Linked DNA regions of Homo sapiens: region 2 is linked to region 1. Evidence: promoter capture Hi-C in 16 types of primary human blood cells and fetal thymus (Javierre and others, 2016). All regions are on one chromosome and are shown on one strand. Each heading gives the region's core, a stretch centred on a gene start or on the middle of the fragment in contact. The rest is flanking DNA. Distances are from core to core; before and after follow the strand shown.

What was found. Contacts are between HindIII fragments. The CHiCAGO score rates a contact against its expected background, and 5 or more counts as called.
Region 2: a contact is called between a fragment that was not itself captured here and the fragment with the promoter of GRIA3 in region 1, in 1 of 17 cell types (M1 macrophages). The highest score is 6.6, in M1 macrophages.

Annotation. Positions count from the first base shown.
Region 1 is chrX:123,182,938-123,186,520 of GRCh38, forward strand. It overlaps GRIA3 (glutamate ionotropic receptor AMPA type subunit 3), which reads left to right and starts at 1,341. Exons shown (of 16, transcript NM_007325.5): 1 at 1,341-1,707; 2 at 2,895-3,053. The coding sequence starts at 1,599. The HindIII fragment of the contact is 6,706 bases long and covers 1-3,583 here.
Region 2 is chrX:120,783,822-120,787,774 of GRCh38, forward strand. No RefSeq gene overlaps it. Among named protein-coding and RNA genes, the nearest start is that of CT47B1, 90 kb to the right of the region's middle. The HindIII fragment of the contact is 1,994 bases long and covers 529-2,522 here.

The DNA.
Region 1 (3,583 bases), core at 91-2,590:
AACGTGAGAGATAAAGAGGATTCTTTTTCCTCATTGCGGGAGAAAGGGGCTAGGGAGAGGAGTCTATAGCCCAGGAGGTTCATCCGCAGCATGCTATGGAGAAGGCCACCGTCACTGAAATCCGGTCTGTACTGTAGGACTTCATAGGTTCTTTGCTCGCCTTAGAGCAGAGGGGAAGAAGAGTCAGAAAGAATTGATAACCTCTGAGGTCATCAGTCAGGGGCCTAGGCTGCTAAGTCCAGAGGCAACACCAAGGGATCAATGCAGCTAGGTACAGTTTTCTCCAGCCTCAACTTTCAATCCCCACCCCCAGACCAGCTCATTCCCACACCTCCCTCCTCCTTGGTCAGTGAGCCTGAGCGTCCTTTTCATTAACCTTTTAGTTACTACCTCTACGCACATACTTTTTCCTATGCCCTCCAAAGAAGTCAGCCCCATACTGCCCATCACTGCTCAGCACCGCCCACCCCATGCCCCCGCAAGCCGGCCTCAGCACTAGTTTAAGGGGAGGGACACGCCTCCCAAAGCTGCGGGGATGGGGGTGGGGGTTGCTCACTCGCCCTCGGATCTCTGCTGTAAAAGCGGAGCGGCAGAGACCGGGCATGCGCAGCATCTTCGGGCGCATTGTGATGGGAACTGCTTCTCTGAGTCTCTACAAAGACTCCGGAGTAACCACTAATGGCCCTCCTAAGGCCCCCCTTCTTTAAGACAGACACACAAACACAGAGGCAATGCAGCTATTTTTTTTTAAAGGGTGGGAGGACGTTGCAGCTTGAAAGGTTGATCCACGTTAGGAGTGGTGTATTTCTATTGATCCCATCTCCGGTGTTGACAAACGCCAGCGCCTAGGCTTTGCAGTCCGGGGCTGCAGTTTGCAGTAGAGCTAAGCGGTGTGCGGCTTTAATTCCACGTCAGATCAACTTTGATCAATATCCCCCTACTGGCCCAATTGGAAGAGCCCAATTCACCGGCACTGAGCCTTTTCGCTCTTTCCTTTTTTTCCCCCCCTCTTTAGACCTACCATCTTTTGCGGGGGGGGGGGGGCGCGGAGAGAGTCTCAGATTGTCTTGATAATTTATTCTTTCGTTCTCTTTCTTTTGCTTCTCTATTTTTGTTTTTCAGTGTTTTGCTTGTTTTGTTCTGTTTTAGGATTTTATTCTCTCTCTCTCTCTCTCTCTCTCTCTCTCTCTCTCTCTCTATCATAGGGACAGAAATCGCTTTGGCAAACCCAGCTTGCAGCCAATGAACCCGCCTTCCAGATTGGTGTGAAGACAGAAGTGAGGTGGGGGGAAGGGAGGGGGTGTGAGAGATCCTGGGAGCGAGAGGGAGAGAGAGGGAGCAAGAAAGGAAGAGAGAGCGAGCGAGAGAGAGCGAGCGAATAAGAGAGAGAGTAAGAGGGAGAGAGAAGAAGAGGAAGAAGAGGAGGCGGCGGCAGCGGAGGAGGAGGAGGACTAGTGTGGGGTGGAAAGGAAGAGTGAGCGAGAGCAAGTTAAGGGGAGGGGGTGTAAGAGCCAGCGAATTCTTTTTCTTTTTCTATTATTATTTTGACGACTCCTGAGTTGCGCCCATGCTCTTGTCAGCTTCGTTTTAGGCGTAGCATGGCCAGGCAGAAGAAAATGGGGCAAAGCGTGCTCCGGGCGGTCTTCTTTTTAGTCCTGGGGCTTTTGGGTCATTCTCACGGAGGATTCCCCAACACCATCAGCATAGGTAAGCGCAAGCGAGCCAGCCGTCGGTCCAGGCTCTCCCTCACCCGAGACCACTGCCCCGGCAAGGCTTTCCCTGCGGTGGGTCCCTGTCCTGCGTGGCCTGGGAACTGGGACTGGGGCCGGGACCGGGCAGAGATGGTGCGGGGCGGGGGGCGGGGCGGGGGGAATCTGAGCCTCAACGAGGTGGCTGGTCTGAAGAGCCTCTGGGACAAGAGAGGGGTCTCCTGGGGCTAGTGGGGGTGAACTGCTAGGTTTTCCGAGCCGAGAGGAGCACCGGAGGCGAGCAGGAGGCTGGGATGCTGCAAGGGGGTGAAGAGTCGAGGCTTTTCGGCTCGCTGCTCTGGACTTTGCCATGGCGTGCGTGCAGCTCCTGGAAGTTGTCCCAGGGTGATGCCGACTGTCTGGCCGCGCCAGGGCGCATAACCCGGGCCCGGGGTGCTCAGTCCGTGGTCTCCGGCTGTCGGGAGACAGGCTGGTGCTGGGGGAGGTGGAGCCCACTTTGGATCTCCCAGACCCGGGCAGCAGCAGGCGTTGGTGGTGGATGGGGTAGGAGGCGGGGGTGAGACTAGGAGCTGAGCGGGCAAGCGGCGAAGTCACGCAGACCACGAATTCATGAATTGCCGCTGTGTCTGTCTGGAGCCCGGCTCCTGGGCGCCTGGAGGGAGTTATCTTGGCTTCTGTCGTATTTACAAGTCTAGAAGTTAGAATTTTTGCCATTACTGAACCAACCCCCTGTATTGTCACGGGGGAGGGTGGCTATGGGGAACGGGTTGGGGTAGCAGGGGGAACAATATTGTTTTTCTTCCCAACCTTTCCCTTCACACAATGAAAAGATGACCAGCTGTGCGGATGGGCGGGGGGCGGAGGGGGGGGGCGACTAAAAAAAAAGAAGGCTGCCGACTAAGAAAGAACCAAGTCTCACTCTTGGTTCCATCGTCCTAACCCAAAACGGCTCCCTCGTCTCTTCTCCCTTCTCTCTAGCCTCTTCTTTTCAGTCTAGAAAAGCCAGGTTTCTCTTGGCCAAAATCTGAGTTCACAAGTCTTGAAAGACACACAGGTTGAATATCAATCCTCAATCCCACACCCCAGTATCATTGAGAGGTATCCGGTATCTATATTGTTCCCCAATTCCTAACTGGCCCTAGTGTGGGGGAACACAAGCCAAATCTCCGTTCCCTTTGCTTATAGGTGGACTTTTCATGAGAAACACAGTGCAGGAGCACAGCGCTTTCCGCTTTGCCGTGCAGTTATACAACACCAACCAGAACACCACCGAGAAGCCCTTCCATTTGAATTACCACGTAGATCACTTGGATTCCTCCAATAGTTTTTCCGTGACAAATGCTTGTAAGTAGATCTGCTTTTCCTCCCTTTGGGACGTTGGGGACCTCATTTGCATCTTTCTTGTGGCACTTAGGGTCTGTGTATGTGCTGGGAGATGATTGCTTCAGTAGATATTTTAGGGGCTCTAATCCATCCGGTTTCATGTTGCATAAATCAACTCCAAATGATACTGCTGAGGGGCTTAAGACAGTGGGAAAAACTCAAGACAGTGGGCAAAAGTCTGCTCCAAATAGTGTTTGATGCAAAAGTTTCATTTTCCTCCATGCTAACCTAGTGTGTTCCTTCTCCAACACTCTCTCTCTTTTTTTTTTAACTGGGGAAAAAAAAAGAAAGAAAGAAAAAAATAGCACGGTTGTTCAGAGAAATTTCTTCAGATGAGATTTAAAAAAGCAGCAGCAGCTTCTTGATTGAGTCAATTCAGGATGTACATCACTTGACTGTTAAAGCTAGTGCCTGGCTCTAGGAACGAGCTGAATTTGACAATTGCCTAATGTGTAGGAAGCAAATATGAGAAATTCTGCAAACAAGTGACC
Region 2 (3,953 bases), core at 276-2,775, 2.4 Mb before region 1:
TGGAATTTTATAGCCAGCATATTTTATAGAGCACTTACCCTAATGACAATAACAGAAACACCTTATAACTGTGTCAGCTTGACTGTTTATAAAAACACTTTCATATGCATCTCATTTGATTCTATGGCACTTCATCTATGCCCTATGAAATGAATACATTTCTACCTCATATTATAGCTATTTATACATGAGGCTGTATGGTCTAGTGGAAAAATCATACTCTGGCTTCGGACAAACCTGAATTTGAATCCCAGGTCCACCACTTCCTAGATGTGTGACTTGAACAAATCTGTGATCCTCATTAAACTTTTGTTTTCTGCATTTGTAAGGTGGGCTTAATCATGCACATCTTATAGGGTTTCTGTGAGGTAAGAGATAACATGTAAAGTGCAGGGCAACTACTATGTATTCAACTAATACTTTCTTAAAAATATTATCATTAGTTTGTATGATGTTAGCTAGCAAAATCTGTGACTATTCATTTTATCTCCAACAGACCCAGAATTGTGCCTTTTATCTTTAGAAAGAAGCTTAATACATACTTCTTGAATAGACAAACCTGAGGTAGGCACAGGAGTTATTATCCCAGTAGATGGAGGTTAAATGGCCTGCCCAGGGATCACATGGCTGATAAATGATAGAACTGGAATTTGGATTCTGATTGTTTGCTGTCTAGTCCAGTGCATCTTCCTGCAGTCTTTTAGATTGGTTTGCAAAACTGACATGCTGGAAATAAAGTCTCTTGTAGAAGACAGCCTAGTAAGCGACAAGTCTAGGTTTTCCACTAGGATTCAGATATCTTTGGATGTGCTGTAAAGAGACACCTCATCCTACTTCCTCATGGGCTATAAGGAGTGTCTTAGAAAGAGAGCCACAGGCCGGGGGTGGTGGCTCACGCCTGTAATCCCAGCACTTTGGGAGGCCGAGGTGGGTGGATCACGGGGTCAGGAGGTGGAGACTATCCTGGCCAACATGGTGAAACCCCGTCTCCACTAAAAATACAAAAATTAGCTGGGGGTGGTGGCGCGTGCCTGTAGTCTCAGCTACTCGGGAGCCTGATGCAGGAGAATCGCTTGAACCAGGGAGGCGGAGGTTGCAGTGAGCCAAGATCCTGCCACTGCACTCCATCCTGGCAACAGCGAGACTCCATCTTAAAAAAGAAAGAAAGAAAGAAAGAAAGAAAGAAAGAAAGGGAGTCACATACCCTAATAGACATGCTATTGGACATGCTCAGTCCAATAAAATGGGCTTAGTTGTTGGAGAGTTGGGGTAAATCTGAGCATAGTCTATTGCCCACCATTAAGATTTACCCATCGATCTAGTTTCCCAGGAATTTATGTCTAAATCTTAGGTAAAGAGGTGTTGAAAGTAAAAATAAAACACAAACAGAAAAAAACAGTAGTTTCTCTAAAGATCTCTGTGGGATATTGGAAGAAAGATAAGGCAGCACCGCTTTTATGCCTACCTAATTGAGAGTTAGCTCAGAACATAGCCAACTGTGGCACATGGGGTTTCTAGGGAGCAGAACTCAGCTTTGGCACTTGGAAGGCGTTAGCACATCAGTGATGCCAGGGGCAGCACAGAGCTGCAGATGCTACCCAGTCTCTAGTAATTGGCACAGCAGTAGCACCTTGTGCCATATTGTTTAAAGAGCAGTACAAGGCAGCATCAGTGGCTTGATGTGGCCTTGGAGACTTTGGGAACTAAGCAGTATCCTTGGTACAAACATTAATGCTGTCATCTTTCATGGTAGGCACTGGTAGCAGCGATGAGGTGCCTGTGGTTTGGTATAGGTAGCAAAGGTCTAGGAAGTCCGTAAAGTGGAGAAGGCTTCTTTATGGGTAGACTTGAGACAACCCATGGGGGTTATGAGAAATAAGTGGAGAACCTAGAGATACTGTAATGATAGATTTGGGGGAAAACCAGAGAAAATGCTGTTTATGATCATTAATATCCCACTTTTACCTGTAGCTTCATATGGTTTGGGGAATTATTGATTATGATTATGATAGTAACCTGACATGAGTGGCCAGATTGATCACAGTATAGATAGCCTGGGGCCCTTCCAGCTCCTGTTCTTCAGTATGAGAGGTTTCTAATTGTCACACGTGGAATTCTGCCTTCTTCCTCATACCTGCCTCCTGCTCCAACACGCTACGAGTTCAATATTCGGTGCTATCAAGCAGCATTCCTGGAAGCACAGAGATTTGAAAGAAAGGTTTCTGAATGTCATGCCAAATCTCCATCTGACTGGAGTAACTCAAGCAAATAGTCCAAAACTTCCAGAATAAATTGGATAAAGGTGGTAAGCACTTTCGAGCTTCCAAGAAGTGGGGCGGGGATGGAGGAAGCTGCCCAATATTAACAATATGCACAGAGACAGAGGCATTTGTATTACAGTGGGTGGTATGCTGTGTTTCCCTCTTACTAAGTGTTGCCCATGCAAAGGCTGAGATGGTGGCATGATGCCTTTGCTGTCAGTGATACCAATTGCATTTGTGTACTCTAAGAGAAATAAAATAAGCTTCTTTCCCTCATGATGATATAATTGTCTTTCTTGTCCTTCGAGATTAGCCAAAGATGTAGTAAAGGCATTAGATATGTGTTAAGAATGACACCACCACAACCACCACCATTACCAGCAACAACAAGAGTAAACACTTACATAGCACTTATTCCGTTTTTGGCACTGTTCTAAGATACACACACGCATGCATATACATGCACATACTTTTTTTCTCCATTATTCCATCTGTCTTCTCACAATGACTTACAGATTGGGCAAAAGAGTGGTCCTCCTCAGGCCAAATTAGGTTTTTCTAAAGTGTGTTTTTAAGATCTTTTGTTCTGGAGAGCTTAACAGGTGTTACAAAACAGGATTCCCTGATCAAGTAAGTTTGGGAGACATTGGGTTATAAAATATAAGCACATTTCTCTACTGCAGGACTTCCAAATGGGCTAATGTATATGGAGATTTTTTCTGATAGAGGAAAATCATAGATGAAATCTGCAGAATTTCTCAAAAAGAGGCAGTAAACCGTGGTGTTATGAGTGGGGGCCTCTGATAGCAGACTTTCTGGGTTTAGAACCCAGCTAGGATATTTCGCTTGCTCCTTATAGGACCTTGGAAAAGTCTGTTTTATCTTTTTGTGCTCCAGGTGTCCTTATCTGTCAAATGGGGATAATGGTAATATTTACATCAGAGTGGTTTTAATATATTCAAACTGCTTAAAAGAGTACTTGGCTTTTAGGAAATGCTCGATAAATACAAGCTGTTTTTTTTTTTGTTTTTTGAGACGGAGTCTCTGTCACCCAGTCTGGAGTGCAGTGGCGCAAGCTCAGCTCACTGCAACCTCTGCTTCCCAGGTTCAAGTGATTCTCCTGCCTCAGACTACAGAGTAGCTGGGGTTACAGGCAAGCGCCACTACGCCCGGCTAATTTTTTTGTATTTTTAGTAGAGACAGGGTTTCGCCATGTTGGCCAGGCTGGTCTCGAACTCCTAACCTCAGGTGATCCACCCACTTCGGCCTCCCAAAGTGCTGGGATTACAGGTGTGAGCCACCGTGCCCAGCCTTTACAGGCTAATTTAATTTTAATTTGATTTGACTCTGTAACCCTTTTCTTGCAAGCATCTCAGGGGATTAAAGTCTTACAGTGCACGTGTGTGGTGCACACACACACACATACACACTTTGGAAAATGCCAAGTTGGGTCCTTCTGGTAAAAAGACTATAGAAGAATGGCACTGGGGAAGAAAGAAAATAAAGGAGATCAGATGACGCCTGGGTTGAAAGACTACAACTCTGCAGTCCAAGTCTCAAAAGTTATTTTCTTATTCCGTCTCTAGATACTTTAAAAATTTTTATGGAGATAATTACCTGCTGCCCTCAAATTGGTTATGTTTACTTTTCTGGAGGAGGGAAAATGGACTAAATGAGGTTTTCGAAACCCAA